Regions from separate parts of the Homo sapiens genome. Here all the other regions are linked to region 4. The links are contacts of gene promoters, found by promoter capture Hi-C in blood cells and fetal thymus (Javierre and others, 2016). All regions are on one chromosome and are shown on one strand. Each heading gives the region's core, a stretch centred on a gene start or on the middle of the fragment in contact. The rest is flanking DNA. Distances are from core to core; before and after follow the strand shown. Region 1 overlaps LOC105375821 (a long non-coding RNA gene). Region 2 overlaps LOC105375821 (a long non-coding RNA gene). Region 3 overlaps LOC105375821 (a long non-coding RNA gene). Region 4 holds the start of SNAI2 (snail family transcriptional repressor 2). Region 5 has its middle 190 kb from the start of LINC02947.

Region 1 (3,274 bases), core at 672-3,171, 510 kb before region 4:
CTATGTTGAGTTCCACAGAGAAGGGCTTCCTCACATAGATCTGCATGAGGTGTTATGTTCCTATCAAGATATTTAAGATGCTTTGACTTCTAAAAGAATAACTGGCTTTTTTTTAAAATCTCTCTGGGGGAATTTTCTCATCTTTTCTACTCCCTGCTTAAGTTAAAAACCACTATGAAGAGCTCTGAAGTTTATAAAGGTTTTGACTCTTAAAATCTGCTGGTCTTGATGTGAAAAGTGCTAAATGATATGGAATGAAACTGCTGGCTGTGCCTGGTGTTGCAGCCAGGCATTTTATTGTTCATTCAAGGAGACAGCTGTGCGGTCTGAGGTCAGCGAGGGAAGATGGCCTGGGTCTGTGAGGGTGCTGTGGGCTGCTGGCTTCTGAACATGCTTGGCCATGATCTGGAGTCCAGCATTCCCAGAGGGAACGGAGCCTACAGGGTCACGTTTAAACACCACAATGGAATTGAAACTTTTCCTTTAGGCTATTTAATTTGTATGTAATAAAAGCTATATTGCTTCTTGTTAAACCTGCATGAAAACAAGTTAAATTTCCCAGAAAACCTCATAAGGGATGGAGGTAGTGAAGGGACCTTGGAGATGGATGAGCAGATGTGAGCATGTGGCATACTCATGTTCCTGCTGGGACCCTGAGGGCTCCTCTCAGGGGCTCCCTACTCCCAGTGTGGACACTGGGTCTTCTTCCTGCCACCTGTGAAGCCCACACGGTCACATGTAAATCACCGGACAATTTCCCTTGGGTGCCTTGAGATTTCCCTACTGTGGATAAAGTGTTCTGTTTCTTGGGTGGAAGGAGCCCCACTCACTCTCTGGGGCAGCCAGGCTGCCGGGTACAGCTGCCCCCAGTGCTTTCTGCCCACTGCAGATGTTAGGTGAATCAAGATAATTAAAACCTGAATTACAGGATGCTTGTTCTCAGCTCAGACCAGGAGCTTTATTCAGATTTCATTTGCTGAGACACCTCTTGTGCCCCAGACATTGCCCTAGTGCAGCTGCATTCCATCCTCAGCAAGCTCAGCAAGGTAGATGTGGTTATGTCCACTACACAGGCAAGGCAAAGGAGGCAGAGAGGCTAGGCAGGCTGACCATGTGTCTCGCTTAAGAAGTGGTGAAGACAGGACCTAAATGCCAGTCTCCTTGGCTAAACGTTATACTTTTCCTCCCAAAGTGCACTGCCTCTCACAGATGGTGGAGGAGGGTGCAGAAGGGGCTCACGTGGCCAAATGGCCATGGCCATAGGAGGTCTGTGTGTTCCCAAACCTCTACCAACCCTGTCCCCCATCATTTAAAGTGATGATCATGATACCAACATTCTTAGTGGGCAGTAGTGCAAAGTCAGAGAAATAAGAAATAAGATGACTAATGTGAGAAAAGCCGGGGTGGTGTCTGGACAGGGGATGAGTCATTTATGCTCCACATCAGGTGGCTTGGAAACCATCACCCGCACACACTGCTGCTACTTTATGTTGGTGTGTGCAGCTGGCGTCTAAAGACTTCCTGCAGGTAGTCTTCCTGCAGCGGCTGCCCACCTGGCCCTGCTGTGCACCCTGTGCCTATGTGAAGCTTGGAGTCTAGCCTCACGCAGCCCGAGACTCCCAGGCTGCTTCATCCCCCATCTGCTGGAGAACCTGTTGCAGCTACAGAAATCTGAATCACTTGAGAAGCTTGTGTGATGGGCCTTGTTGCCTCACAGCTGCCTTTTTCCCGTGCTTCTCTCACCTGGGATGGATCAGCCCTTGAGTCTTCTCATGGCAAAGGTGAATGAAGCCTGGTTTTTCGCAGTTATCATCCTCTGACTTTATCATCCCCAAGGAAATGATCTAGGAAAGAGTGAGTACTTAATGATAAGAAAACTCACCATGTTTTATGATAGAGAAAAGCCCAGACCGCTTTTCGAAGTTGAATTTGCTACAGAAAAAGCATGGAAGGAAGAAGAAATAAGGTACACACAAACCTTGCCTGCTCTGCCCCAGAACTACAGGCCCTGGTGGGGCCTGCTCCCTGTCGCCAGCAAAGTTGCTGAGAGAGCACACGCCAGCCACGGTGGTGAAGTCATAGAAATGCTATGCCCCCACAGGCCACAGGAATTGTGGAAAGATTTGTGTAAATATCTCATGCATTCTTGTGATCTAAGCTTTATGGAAATAAAAACCACAATCAAAAAGCCAATGCCACATTTATTCCACCTCCTTCCTTTTCTCCTGTAGAATAAATTCATAGAACAGTTTATGGAGCAGCCAAGAAAATACGTTATTTCAATTTTATTACCAGGAAGACATGCACCTAAGTGCTCAGCAAGACTAACCTAAACAGGGTCCATTTCGGAAGAAGATGAGCAGATGCTGCTGGGCATCCCCTTAGTCATGAAGACAAGAGTGGCTCTCGCAGAGGCCACCCCACAGCCCCTGTGTCCAGATGGGCTTGGTAGTTACCAGTACTCAGAGAACTTCCAGCTTCCTTTCCTCTTCTCTCCTTTCTTAACTTTGTGGTGGATATTGGAGTTGGGACGTCTCACACACTCAGAGCACAGCTGGGATGTTCAACTTGCTGAAGCTTCCCTGGCACCAAGTTTAAAGAAACCACCGAGGAGCACATGGTTTCCCACACAGGCTCCTGGTGGGGCATGCCCTCACCAGGATTCCAGCAGCAGACCCCCAGGAGTCCTGGCCTGAGAGTGAGGAGGGGCCCTCTCTGGAGAGGAGCTGTGGACCCATGCTCACATCCATCCTTCCCACTTACCATAACACAGCAGGGAAGTCAGTGTCATGAGAACACATTTCCACCCTAAGTTTTTAAATGCACCATGCTAAAATTTTCTTTGAATTCTTGCCCCAATTTTTCTGACTTGTAATGTGAAACAACAGACTACTTCCTGCTTCTCTCTGCCCTCCTTTTCCCCACTCACATTCCAGTTATGTGTGTCACCCATATATTGAATGGACTTAGGAAAGTGCAAAGCAGGAAACAATCCAATTTTAATTAATCAATTGATGTTTTCTTCATTGCTCTTGAGGAGATCTCAGGCAGAAATCATAGTTTTCCTATTTACTTCTAACTATTCAAAGTCAAGCCTGAATTAAATCCTAACTTTGATCTCTCATCTAATTGAAAGTGTCTCCCCTCCCTGACCCCATCTCAGTCCTTATCTAGCCTGGGGACCTGGCACTGGAAAGGAGAACATTTCTTCACCCTTTCCTTCTACTCTGGAGTTAGGGGCTGGGAAGGAGGAGAGTAGGTGGCAGGAAGGTCT
Region 2 (3,241 bases), core at 428-2,927, 570 kb before region 4:
GAAATGACAGAAATCGAATTCAGAATATGGATAGGAAGGAAGATCATTGAGCTAGAGGAGTACATTGAAACCCAATTCAAAAAACCTAGAAATCATGATAAAACAAAACAGGAGCTGACAGACAAAATAGCCAGTATAGAAAAAAGAATTTAACCAACCTGATAGAGCTGAAAAACACATTACAAGAATTTCATAATGCAATCACAAGTATTAATAACAGAATAGTCCAAGAAAAGGGAAGAATCTCAGAACTTGATGATTGGCTTTCTGAAATAAGACAGTCAGACAAGAATAGAGAAAAAAGAATGGAAAGGAATTAATAAAACCTCCAATAAATGTGAGATTATTTAAAGAGAGTAAATCTATGACTCACTGGTGTCCCTGAAAGTGATGGGGAGAATGAAACCAACTTGGAAAACATACTTGGGGATATCATTCATAAGAACTTCCCCAACCTAGCTAGAGAGGCCAACATTCAAATTCAACAAATGCAGAGAACCCCACTAAGATACTTCACAAGAAGATCATCCCCAAGACACATAATCAGATTCTCCAACGTCAAAATAAAAGAAAAAAATGTTAATGGCAGCTAGTGAGAAAGGTCAGGTAACCTACAAAGGGAAGCCCTTCAGACTAACACTGGACCTCTCAGCAGAAACCCTGCAAACCAGAATATATCTGGGGCCAATATTCAAACTTCTTAAAGAAAAGAAATTCCAACCTGGAATTTCATATCCAGCCAAACCAAGCTTCATAAGTGAAGGAGAAATAAGATCCTTTTCAGACAAGGAAATGCTGAGGGAATTTGTTACCAGCAGACCTGCATTACAAGAGCTCTAGAAGGAAGCACTAAATATGGAAAGAAAAGACCATTACCAGCTGCTACAAAAACACACCAAAGTACACAGACCAGTGGCACTATTAAGCAACCACATAAACAAGTCTGCAAAATAACCAGTTAAAATCATGATGACAGGAACAAATCCACACACATCAATACTAACTTTGAATGTAAATGGGCTAAATGCCCCAATTAAAGGGCACAGAGTGGCAAGCTGGATAAAGACCCAATGGTATGCTGTCTTCAAGAGATCCATCTCACATGCAATGACACACATAGGCTCAAAATAAAGGGATGAAGAAAAATCTACCAAGCTAATAGAAAATAGAAAAAAGCAGAGGTTGCGATCTTAGTTTCAGACAAAATAGACTTTAAACCACGAAGATCAAAAAAGACAAAGAAAGGCATTACATAATGATAAAAAGTTCAGTTCAACTAGAAGATCGAATTATCCTAAATATATATGCATTAAACACAAACCACCCAGGTTCATAAAGCAAGTTCTTAGAGACCTTCAAAGAGTCTTACACTCCCACACAATAATAGTGGGAGATTTTAACACTGCACTAACAATATTAGACAGATCATTGATACAAAAAGTTAACAAAGATATTCAGGACCTGAGCTCAGCACTAGATTAAAAAGACCTGACGACATCTACAGAACCCTCTACTCCAAAACAACAGAATATACATTCTTCTCATTGCCACATGGCACATACTCTAAAACTGATCAGATATTTGGAAGCAAAACACTCCTCAGCAAATGCAAGATACCTGAAGTCATAGCGAACAATGTCTCAGACCACAGCATAATCAAATTAGAAATTAAGACTAAGAAATTCACTCAAAGCCATACAATTACATGGAAATTGAATAAGCTGCTCCTGAATGGCTTTTGAGTAAATAATGAAATTAAGACAGATGTCAAGAAGTTCTTTGAAAGTAATGAGAACAAAGATACAACATAACAGAATTTCTGGGACACAGCTAAGGTAGTGTTAAGAGGGGAGCTTATACCACTAAATGCCCACATCAAAAAGTTAGAAAGATCTCAAATTAACAACCTAATGTCACAACTAAAAGAACTAGAGAATCAAGAGCAAACAAATACCAAAGTTAGCAGAAGACAACAAATAACCAAAACCAGTTTGAACTGAAGGAGATTAAGACACAAAAAACCATGGAAAAGATCAACGCATCCAGGAACTGTTTTTTGAAAAAAATCAATAAAATAGGATAAAGAAGAAAAGAGAGAAGATTCAAAGAGACACAATTAGAAATGATAAAGGGGATATTACCACTGGCCCCACAGAAATACAAATAACAGTTGAAGAATATAATGAACACCTCTATGAATATAAACTAGAAAACACAGAAGAAACAGATAAATTTTTGGTCACACATACCCTCACAAGACTGAAAGAAGAAGAAACTGAATCCCTGAATAGACCGATAATGAGCTCTGAAATTGAGTCAGCAATAAATAGCCTACCAATGAAAAAAAGCCCAGGACCGGATAGATTCACAGTTGAATTCTACCAAATGTACAAACAAAAGCTGGTACCATTCCTGCTGAAACTATTCTAAAAAATTGAGGAGGAGGGACTCCTCCCTAAATCATTCTATGAGGGTAGCATCATCCTGATACAAAAACTTGGCAGAAACACAACAAAAAACAAAACTTCAGGTGAATGTCTTTGATGAACACTGATGCAAAAATCATCAGCAAAATACTGACAAACTGACTTCAGAAGCACATAAAAAAGCTTATCTACCATGATCAAGTAAGCTTAATCCCCAGGATGCAAGGTTGCTTCAACATACACAAATCAATAAATGTGATTCATCACATAAGTGGAACTAAAGACAAAGACCACATAATCTCTCAATAGATGCAGAAAAGGCTTTCAATAAAATTCAACATCCCTTCATGTTAAAATCTCTCAATAAAGTAGGTATTGAAGGAACTTTCTTCAAAATAACTGGAGCCATCTATGACGCACCCCCAGACAACATTATACTGGATGGGCAAAAGCTGGAAGCATTCCCCTTGAAAATCATGGGGACAGATGGATGCCCTCTGTCACCATTCCTAATTGTCACCACAATGGCATTCCCATTAGAAATCATGGGGCATTCCTCTTGAAAATCAGTGCAAGAGAAGGATGCCTTCTATCACCACTCCTCTGTCACCATTTGTATTCAAGATAGTATTGGAAGTCCTGGCCAGGGCATTCATGCAAGAGAAAGAAATAAACAGCATCCAAATAGGAAGAGAGGAAGTCAAACTATTCCTGTGTGCAGATGACATGATCCTATATCTAGAAAACATCATATTCTCAGTCCTAAAGCTCCTTAAGCTGATAAACAACTTTAGCAAAGTTTCAGGATACAAAAT
Region 3 (3,029 bases), core at 11-2,510, 530 kb before region 4:
TGAACCTTTGGAATCTCACAAGAGGTGTCAAATTTAGCTGACTCAAGCTCTTCATCTGAATAGAAATAGAAACCTTTGCGAGGCTGAGGCAGGAGGATCGCTTGAGCTCAGGAGATAGAATCCAGCCTGGGCAACATAGCAAGGCCCCATCTATAAAAAAGAGAAATAAAAAAACTAGCCAGACACGATGGTGTGCACCTGTAGTCCCAGCTACTTAAAAGGCTGAGGTGGGGTAATCGCTGGAGCCTGGAAGGTCGAGGCTGCAGGGAGCCATGATTGCACCACTGCACTCCAGCCTGGGCAACAGAGAGATATCTTGTCCCAAAAACAAAAACCTAGAAATAGAAGCCTAGAGGGGAACTGAGGTGCTGCATGCTGGGGGTCCCCTCCCACAGGAAGGACCAGAGCAGGACAGCTTCAAGGATCTGCTGCAAAGCCCCGTGCTCCTCAGAGTCATGCTTTGTCTCAAGAGTGGAGTAGAAAGAGCTTTGTGTAGATATGCTTGTCTCATTTCGTAATAATAATACAACCCGAAATGAACTTTTTATTTAGTGACTGAATGCTTTAACCTATATTATTTTTTCCTTTTCCTCATCCCCTCTCTTACCAGCTGTCATTTATTCATTCAGTTCTTAATGTGTTCTATCCTGTGACTATTGGGATTAAGAAGGTCAATGAGATATAATTCCTATCTTCAAGGAATTTATCCTTAATGTAGTCACTTGAAAGTTCAGATATTATGCTTCTGACTTCTAATTCCAATGAGGTGATGAGACATTATTTGTATGCTATCCCTGGACCCATTCTGCACATGCAGATTGCTATGGTGTGGTAAATATAAGCTGCCTTTTGCAGGGGCTTTCGCTATGTACAGTTTTGTTCATTGCACTCTTGCTGGTCTTAAGAGTTTGCTCAGGAAGGCCCTTTGCTGTTTCCACTACTGGGTCTGGCATTTCTTGTTGTCACCAGAGCCATAGAAGGCATGCTGCTTTTCCTCAGAGTCTACCTTGTGGGCTGGGAGCCTGCACGTAAATGCAGGAAACCATTGTCCATGCCACAAAAGCTCCGGCACACTGGAGGAGCTGGTGCACAAACCTACCAGAGGCTATGCATTCACAAGGAAGCCACCTGGCCTCAGAGGCGGTTAGTGAGGCTCTGGGTCCTAGGTGGGCTGGGGAAGTGCAGTGCCAGAGACAGTGCAGAACACATGGCCGTTCCATGCCAGCAGGTCTTCCCAGAGGCCCAGTGGAGAGGAGTGGGAGTTCGTGCAGGACCCAGGAGGGCAGGGCTTTGTGATAGGCAGGTGCAGCCAGGAAAGCAGTGGCTCTCTGGGGCTCTGGGCTAGGGTTCCGTCCTCTGTACCAGAGCTGCCTCTGGAGCTGCCCTAAAGCCAGTCTCAAAGAATGGCTGCGGCTGTGAGGTGGTCTAAGTGAGTCTAATAGTGGGAAGACAGCCAGTCCCTTAGAGGTACCTCTGAGATGCTAGGAAAATTGCCCTTGGAATCTGACACATGCCCCTGTACCCAGAAGGAAGAAACAACTCTTGCTTTTGTTTTTAAGAGCATCTATCTCCCTGCTGACCTGAGCATGCTTCACTGCATCTGCGCAGAGGCCAAGAAAACCCCAAATAAGAAAGTCCCTGTAGCTGTGCTAGCCTGGGAAGTCAGGCACTGGGCTGGGCTCAGTGTTGCCTGCGGCAGGCAGCTTATCAGCTCACAGCCAGAGCTTGGGACTCTTCATCCATTGCCCTACACAGGTCTGATTTTAGTAGAAATTTGCTCTTTAAGACAGAGGCATTCTTATGATTATGCAGAATATAAAACTGCCTTTCAGGCAGCAGATAGGACCTTTTGCTTCTCGCAGCATCGGAAATCCCATCTCTAGAAACTTCTTCCTCTTACGAGTAGGGCGAACATAGAAAAGTCTCTGCAAGTCTTGTCAGAGGAGAGAGAATCAGAGGCTGATGTCAGAGTGGCTGTGACTGGGAAGGGCTCTGAGGGTGGGGAGGAGAGGCACTGGGTACCCAGGACCCAGTGTGCCCATCGCATGCTCCTATGGGTGACACACATCAACGACTGCTCAGAACAACCCAGGAGTTGCTGGAACTCACATCATCAGCATGGCAGCACCAATGAGTGAGGGCTTCCTGATCTCCTTACTGTGGCCTGGGCCTCAGGCCATGAGTACTTCGGATGATTTCAGTGGGATCCTCCTCATTGCCCAGCATGAGAACTGGCTGCAAACTGGAAGGCACCCTGAGTAAGACAGGCGCACCCTTCCTGCACAAGTGGGTCAGCTCTCGAATCCTATAACATGGCTCAGGGTGCTGTGAGAAGTGGGCATGGTGGGGGTACTGAGGAGCATGGCCCTGTTTCTGCTGCCCCTGGGAATCTCTGGGCAGCCAAAGAGGGGCTGTGTTGGGCTTCCCGTGTGCCCAGAACTGGCCTGCACAATGACCGGGGCACAATTACAGATAATTCTGCCCCTTTCCAACCAATTTGGATGTTCCATTATGAGTCTTTAGAGTTGGACCAGGCTACACCAAGTATCATTTTGTTTTCCTGACCTAGTTTAATGGTTTTTTTTTTTTTTTAAATAAGAAACTGAATTTGTAGCTCTTTTCACCCTAAAATGATTGCACATTGAGCTGAGCTGGAAGAGAGACTTCTGGTTCTTTTTTTTTTTTTGGAGGCAGGGTCTCACTCTGTTGCCCAGGTTGGAGTGTAGCAGTATGATTGCCCCAATCACCCTGGACTCAAGTGATCCTCCTACCTCAGCCTCCAAAGTAGCTGATGGGTGTGCACCATCACACTTGGCTAATTTTTCTTATTTTTTGTAGAGATGGGGTTTTGCCATGTTACCAGGCTGGTCTCAAACTCCTGGGCTCAAGTGGTCCTCCTGCGTCGGCCTCCCAACATGCTGGGATTATAGGCGGGAGCCACTGTGCCTGGTCACTTCTAGTTCTTACTTGCTTCATTTTGCAGAGGAGCTCTGTGCTGCCGTGGCCAAAGCACAGGCTTTGGAGGCCTG
Region 4 (3,162 bases), core at 154-2,653:
GTCACAGTATTTACAGCTGAAAGATTTTCTAGACTGGGCATCGCAGTGCAGCTGCTTATGTTTGGCCAGCCCAGAAAAAGTTGAATAGGTCTTATTGCATAAATTGCACTGAAACTTTTCAGCTTCAATGGCATGGGGGTCTGAAAGCTTGGACTGTAGTCTTTCCTCTTCATCACTAATGGGGCTTTCTGAGCCACTGTGGTCCTTGGAGGAGGTGTCAGATGGAGGAGGGGGACTCACTCGCCCCAAAGATGAGGAGTATCCGGAAAGAGGAGAGAGGCCATTGGGTAGCTGGGCGTGGAATGGAGCAGCGGTAGTCCACACAGTGATGGGGCTGTATGCTCCTGAGCTGAGGATCTCTGGTTGTGGTATGACAGGCATGGAGTAACTCTCATAGAGATACGGGGAAATAATCACTGGGAAAGAAAAGGGAGGGAGAGAAGATTAAGGCAAAAATAATTAAAAATAAATCCACACGCAAGTATACACACACTGGAAAGATATTTAGCAACACACACGTGATTTTCTTAGGAAGAAGATAGACCCATTTAGGAGGGCATACACACTGGTAAAATGTTTCATTTCCACCCTGGCACCTACGGAGTTACTGTACTTAATGCACACATAGGCTGACAGCTGCACGGAGCTATAGGTGCTCTGAAGTCAGACAGTGCAGCCAAGCCAGTGCCTTCGCCGTCCCCATTGAGGAAGGAGAGCCTCAACATTATTTTTAAACATACAGAAAAGTTGTTTTCCATGTTACGTATGGGCTATTTAGGTGTATTACGACCGTGAGTACAAAGATATGCCTGCATCAAGCCGCCTTCTAAAGGAAAGGAGACTTAGTGCATGAAAAACGCAGTAATTCAATCCTTATGTTGCTCATCTTTCACATACTCATTATGCATGTATACACAGGCTTTAGCAAACGAAGCTGCGAGATTTGAATGAAATGTTCCTTGTTAGTCAAGAATTTTAAAAGTTTTGAATTAAAACGAACCCTAAATGATCAAAAGAATGTAAGCTCCCTTTCAGGACACTGTTAAAAAGGAAAACAGTTGAATCTTTGGCTCTTTTGTAATGGTATTTGAAGGGTAATACGTAGATTCATATTTGCAAAGCTCTAGATACGTAGTTCTAGATATATTTTTCTCTTTTTACCTGTATGTGTGTCCAGTTCGCTGTAGTTTGGCTTTTTGGAGGCGTTGAAATGCTTCTTGACCAGGAAGGAGCGCGGCATCTTGCCAGCGGGTCTGGCGGGCGCCCGGCGCGGATAACGGTCCGGCGGGAGGACACGGCGGTCCCTACAGCATCGCGGCGGGCCAGGCTCGGGCAGGGGCCGTGCTCAGGTGCGGCAGACGGACGGGCCGGCGCCTCTGAAGTCACCCGGCTCCTTTACGAACTGAGCCCGTTTTGGCTGGGAGGGTTTTTTTTTCCTCTCTTTTGCAAGAAAGATCCAATCACAGCTGAGAGGTTCAGATTTCAGCTCCTCCCTCTGGGACAGCTGTGAACAGAGGAAGAATCTGTTGTCAGACTAAATTATTCTGGTTCAAAATGGGCTGTTTTTTGAGATTTCAGTGGAGAGGAAAAAAAGTGTTTAAGTATTTTCAAGAGAGGTAACCTCGCTCGGTGAGCCCCGCCCGCGATCCACGCTCTCTGGGAGCTAGGAGGGGCGCAGGAGCCGGGGTCTCTGCCCTGCCCGCCTGGCTTCCAGATGTGGTGCAGCGCCAGCGCGCGGGGACACAGTGTCCGCCAGGAGAAGGAAGGGCCGCCCTGCACCACACCAGGCCAGCCTCTGGTGTTAATGAGAGCCTATATTTGGAAGTGGCATCTGGAGAGGTTTGCCTTGCACAAAGACCAAATAATTACCTCTTGGCTTTTGAAAAAGGAAGGGGGAAGCGGGAAGACAAAGGCGCCTGTGAGCGCGGAGGACGCTCTCCTGGGACTCTGGCCTGGAGCGGGACTGCAGCCTTGCGTGCGGCGAGGGCGCTGCGCTACTCAGGGCTTCCGCGAAGCCAGGGGCAGCGCGGCCGCGTGCAAATTAAGTACTCATGTCACCGTGTTAGCTATGGTGGCTTGAAAGAAATGCTTTGTAGCCCTCTAAAGGCAGGCTGATCGGAAGAACTGGAAGATTGCAAAGATAAAAAGGAACTCTGGCAGAGAAGGGGGGCAAGAGGTAACTGTCATTTGGAACCACCGGACATTCTCTCACACTTTTGACAAGAGATCTTATCTTTTCATGTATTACAGTGCATCTTTTTTTTTATGGGAAAAAGGGTTGTATGGGTCTTTAGAGACAATTATTTTTATTTCTAATATTCCCCTGCTTTTATGTGGTGCTATTTTCATCAGTATAAAGCCATTAAAATCCATCTCAGTATCTACCAGTTTCCTGTATAATGCTAAAAAAGAAATTGAAGGATATTATTATGAATATAGATTGATTAAAGTTTTAAGAACCCAGTCTAGTAACTGCAAAAACACCTTTATTTTGTGTATGGTCTTCAATCTAAAAATACTTTCAGGTGGTTTATTTTAAATATAAAATTTCAAGCATATTTTAAAGCATCTCTGTCCATTGCAGACTTTTATCCCTATCTTTTGCTAAAAGAATAAGGAAAGAACAAATTCACATGAAGATCACCCTACTCTTGTTTCTAACAGGTGCTGGAGGAAAAAAGTGAAAAAGAAAATAACAGTGGTGATGTCAAGACTTGTCAGAGAAAAGTGCATTGTCAGGTTGCATAACTTCTTAATCTTGGAATGAGAAAACAAGAGTGTATGTGTGTTTGGAGGGTGAGGTGGGGCACTCACAGATTTCCTAAGCTAATTTCAATGATTATTCTTATTTCTTCCAACAGTCACTAATTTAAATGTCAAACAGAGAAAATAATTCAAAGGAATCCTTATGCTAATGGAACTGTACTTGCAGGAGAGAGGAAAATATGAATACATATTCGATTTCTCCACACACAAACTGGAACCTGGAGTAAAAGCCAGAGGCAGTTTTCTAAGCTTGCTACTCTATGTGAGGGTTTGTTCGGATGTAGGCACCTGGGTTTATGAGAGCAGGAGTCCTCCTTGCTTTTCACTCCATTTCCCACAAAACACACATTTTTGTTACAGATATAGCACAGTTGAGAAAACACATATCGCCATGGC
Region 5 (3,063 bases), core at 453-2,952, 590 kb before region 4:
CTGGAAGGGAAGATGTAATCGTAGTCTAGAGACACTTCTTCTTTTAGTCCTAGTTCATCTTTGAAATGGCTAGCAACCGAGGTAGATAGGTAGATAGAGATTGAAACTAAATAAAGCACCATGATTGAAACTAAATAAAGCACCATGAAACTAAATAAAGCACCGTGGTTTCCCTTACATCATGAATAAAAGTAGACCAGTTTGAACCTTGACATAGGTGTTTGATCCTCAATTCTCAGCAAAATCGCGGGTGTGTCTCTATACAGCAGGATTTGACCATGCAGTAGGTGGACCTTTCAGAGAAATGCTGCAAGAGTTTCAAGGACGTTATTCTCTGCAGGTCTGTTTCTCATATTTTATCTTGTCTATCACAATGAGAGGGGACAAGTGTAATTCAGAGGCCACCTACTCAAAAAGGTAATATGAGTCAAGAATAATGAGAGGGCCTCAAAAGGAAATTCTGCTGTGCAGAGAGTACGATGGTCCTGGGTAATCATGGTGCTCCCACCCATCTGCTTTAAGAATTCAGACAGATTTTAAAGTGTGATGGGAGGTGGGTGGGAGGAGAGTTAAGTTCTACAGTATACTACTTCAAATAGTGCTTGAATCACTAACCCCAAAGCACAATGTATGGGGTGCGAGATTCTGATGAGTGCAGCTGTCTTCAGTTACCTTGCAGGACAACTTTGACTCACTGAAATGTATAATTTTAAACAGAAGTGTTCCTGCAGAGATTGTCATCTTGTTGGCAGGAGAATGGCACCTTACCGAGTAAGAATGAGGACTGCAAGAGGATGGGGCACAAGAAGCCCGAGAGGAAGAAAAGCAGTGAGACACCTTCAGTCTTCTAACCAGGCAGGTGCAATACACACTGCCTCTCCCAGATGGTTACATGTGTTTCTTTGAGTGTAAAAGTAGCCCCTGGCCACTGCCCTCCAAAGTATCCAGGGCTGTCTGCTTCATCATGTAGAGAGCTCATTTCCTGACCAGCTCATCCTCTGAGCCCAGGTCCTGTTTCTGTCTTTGAACACAACCTGGGCCATCATAGAGACAGTTTGAGCTCTTTTCCCTCTCCTTTTTCTCCCCTCTCCAAATAATCCCAGAAGTGCAACTCATCAAACCACACCTCTGCTTCTGGACCCGGCCAGGGCCCAGACAGCCAGAAGCCCATAGTGCCAGCTCTGGAGCAAGTTCTGCGTCTGCAAAGGGAACAGGAATCAGCCCCAGAAATGCAGGCGTGGGAAGAGTGTGTGCCTGGGAAAGGCATAAGGTGTGAGGTGTCTGTTTGCCAAACAACCCACTTAGCCATGTTTTCCAGTGTTGGTGGCGCCTGGAGACAGAATGAGAAAACACTCAAAGTGCTCCTCTGTCCAAGAATAATGAGGCTCACTTTCTCGAAAAACCTGTGATCTGTGAGAATTGGACTTCAGTAGTTAACTGTGCCATTGTGGTTATAAGGGTAATTGATTTATTTTTTTTCATACAACAAAAAACCCTTCTCTATGTCCTAGGGATTCAGCTGTCAGATCCAGGCAAACAGATAGTCTGCTTAGAAGAGTAAAAAAGATGTTCACATTGTGGGCGTGGGAATGGTCCTCCCCAATCCCTGCTCCGAGTTGCTCATCTCCAGCAGTCCTTCCCAGACTGAGCACAAGTGAGCAGCCGACAGCACCCTGGAACCCTGTGTGGACTCGCTCACTCCCACAGGCGAGCCCAGCTCCACACTTCTAACTGGCTACACAAAATGGGTTATGAACCCATTGTCAAGAGTTGTCAAGCTCCGGGCAGATGTGCTCTGTGGAAATATCTCCCTCCAGTGAGATAATGAGATGGCAATTAAAGCAGGACCTGAGAATGAGCCCAGACAGGGTTGGAGTGACAGAGCGGCAGGTCAGATGGGAAAGATTTTTTTTTAACTTTTATTTTTGTTACATAGGTAAACTTGTATCATGGGGGTTTGTTGTATCAATTATTTCATTCCCTAGGTGTTAAGCCTAGTACTCATTAGTTATTTTTTTTATTATACTTTAAGTTTTAGGGTACATGTGCACAACATGCAGGTTTGTTACATATGTATACATGTGCCATGTTATCGGGGGACCTGCCCTGATAATCACGTAGGTTCTTTTCTATTTTCCCTAAGCGTCGGTCGGCTTGAGAAATAAAGGGACAGAGTACAAAAGAGAGAAATTTTAAAGCTGGGTGTCCGGGGGAGACTTCACACATTGGTAGGATCTGTGATGCCCCACAGGCCACAAAAACCAGCAAGTTTTTATTAGAGATTTTCAAAAGGGGAGGGAGTGTGCGAATAGGTGTAGGTGACAGACATCAAGTACTTAACAGGGTAATAGAATATCACAAGGCAAGTGGAGGCAGGGTGGGATCACAGGACCACAGGACCGAGGCGAAATTAAAATTGCTAATGAAGTTTCGGCACCATTGTCATTGATAACATTTTATCAGGAGACAGGGTTTTGAGATCAACTGGTCTGACCAAAATTTATTAGGTGGGAGTTTCCTCTTCCTAATAAGCCTGGGAGCACTATGGGAGACTGGAGTCTATTTCATCTCTGCAGCCTTGACCATAAAAGATGGCTTACGCCTAGGGGGGCCAGTTCAGAGACCTACTTGCAGGCACACATTCTCTTTCTCAGGGGTGTTCCATGCTGAGAAAAAGAATTCAGCAATATTTCTCCCGTTTGCTTTTTAAAGAAGAGAAATATGGCTCTGTTCCACCTGGCTCACCAGCGGTCACAGTTTAAGGTTATCTCTCTTATTCCCTGAACAATTGCTGTTATCCTGTTCTTTTTTCAAGATGCCCACATTTCGTATTGCTCAAACACACATGCTATACAATTTGTGCAGTTAATGCAATTATCACATGGTCCTGAGGTGACATACATCCTCCTTGGCTGACAGGATTAAGAAATTAAAGTAAAGACAGGCATAGGAAATCACAAGGGTATTGATTGGGGAAGTGATAAGTGTCCATGAAATCTTTACAATTTATGTTTAGAGATTGAAGTAAAGACAAGCATAAGAAATTATAAAAGTATTAATTTG

Evidence for each region. Contacts are between HindIII fragments. The CHiCAGO score rates a contact against its expected background, and 5 or more counts as called.
Region 1: a fragment that was not itself captured here is called in contact with the fragment with the promoter of SNAI2 in region 4 in 4 of 17 cell types (endothelial precursors, M1 macrophages, M0 macrophages and 1 more); the score reaches 15.3 in endothelial precursors.
Region 2: a fragment that was not itself captured here is called in contact with the fragment with the promoter of SNAI2 in region 4 in 4 of 17 cell types (M2 macrophages, M1 macrophages, M0 macrophages and 1 more); the score reaches 7.6 in M2 macrophages.
Region 3: a contact is called between a fragment that was not itself captured here and the fragment with the promoter of SNAI2 in region 4, in 4 of 17 cell types (M0 macrophages, M1 macrophages, endothelial precursors and 1 more). The highest score is 10.4, in M0 macrophages.
Region 5: a contact is called between a fragment that was not itself captured here and the fragment with the promoter of SNAI2 in region 4, in 9 of 17 cell types (M0 macrophages, M1 macrophages, M2 macrophages and 6 more). The highest score is 15.1, in M0 macrophages.

What each region holds. Positions count from the first base shown.
Region 1 is chr8:48,406,529-48,409,802 of GRCh38, forward strand. All of the region lies in intron 2 of LOC105375821 (a long non-coding RNA gene), which reads left to right. Among named protein-coding and RNA genes, the nearest start is that of LINC02947, 110 kb to the right of the region's middle. The HindIII fragment of the contact is 470 bases long and covers 1,687-2,156 here.
Region 2 is chr8:48,348,608-48,351,848 of GRCh38, forward strand. All of the region lies in intron 1 of LOC105375821 (a long non-coding RNA gene), which reads left to right. Among named protein-coding and RNA genes, the nearest start is that of LINC02947, 170 kb to the right of the region's middle. The HindIII fragment of the contact is 1,860 bases long and covers 748-2,607 here.
Region 3 is chr8:48,390,952-48,393,980 of GRCh38, forward strand. The region is part of intron 2 of LOC105375821 (a long non-coding RNA gene); the gene reads left to right. Among named protein-coding and RNA genes, the nearest start is that of LINC02947, 130 kb to the right of the region's middle. The HindIII fragment of the contact is 3,631 bases long and covers 1-3,029 here.
Region 4 is chr8:48,920,026-48,923,187 of GRCh38, forward strand. It overlaps SNAI2 (snail family transcriptional repressor 2), which reads right to left and starts at 1,404. Exons shown (of 3, transcript NM_003068.5): 1 at 1,162-1,404; 2 at 1-416. The coding sequence starts at 1,240. It overlaps LOC107986942 (a long non-coding RNA gene), which reads left to right and starts at 1,532. Exons shown (of 4, transcript XR_001745895.3): 1 at 1,532-2,176; 2 at 2,665-2,739. RefSeq lists an enhancer at 1,515-1,594. The HindIII fragment of the contact is 2,868 bases long and covers 146-3,013 here.
Region 5 is chr8:48,330,862-48,333,924 of GRCh38, forward strand. No RefSeq gene overlaps it. Among named protein-coding and RNA genes, the nearest start is that of LINC02947, 190 kb to the right of the region's middle. The HindIII fragment of the contact is 7,499 bases long and covers 1-3,063 here.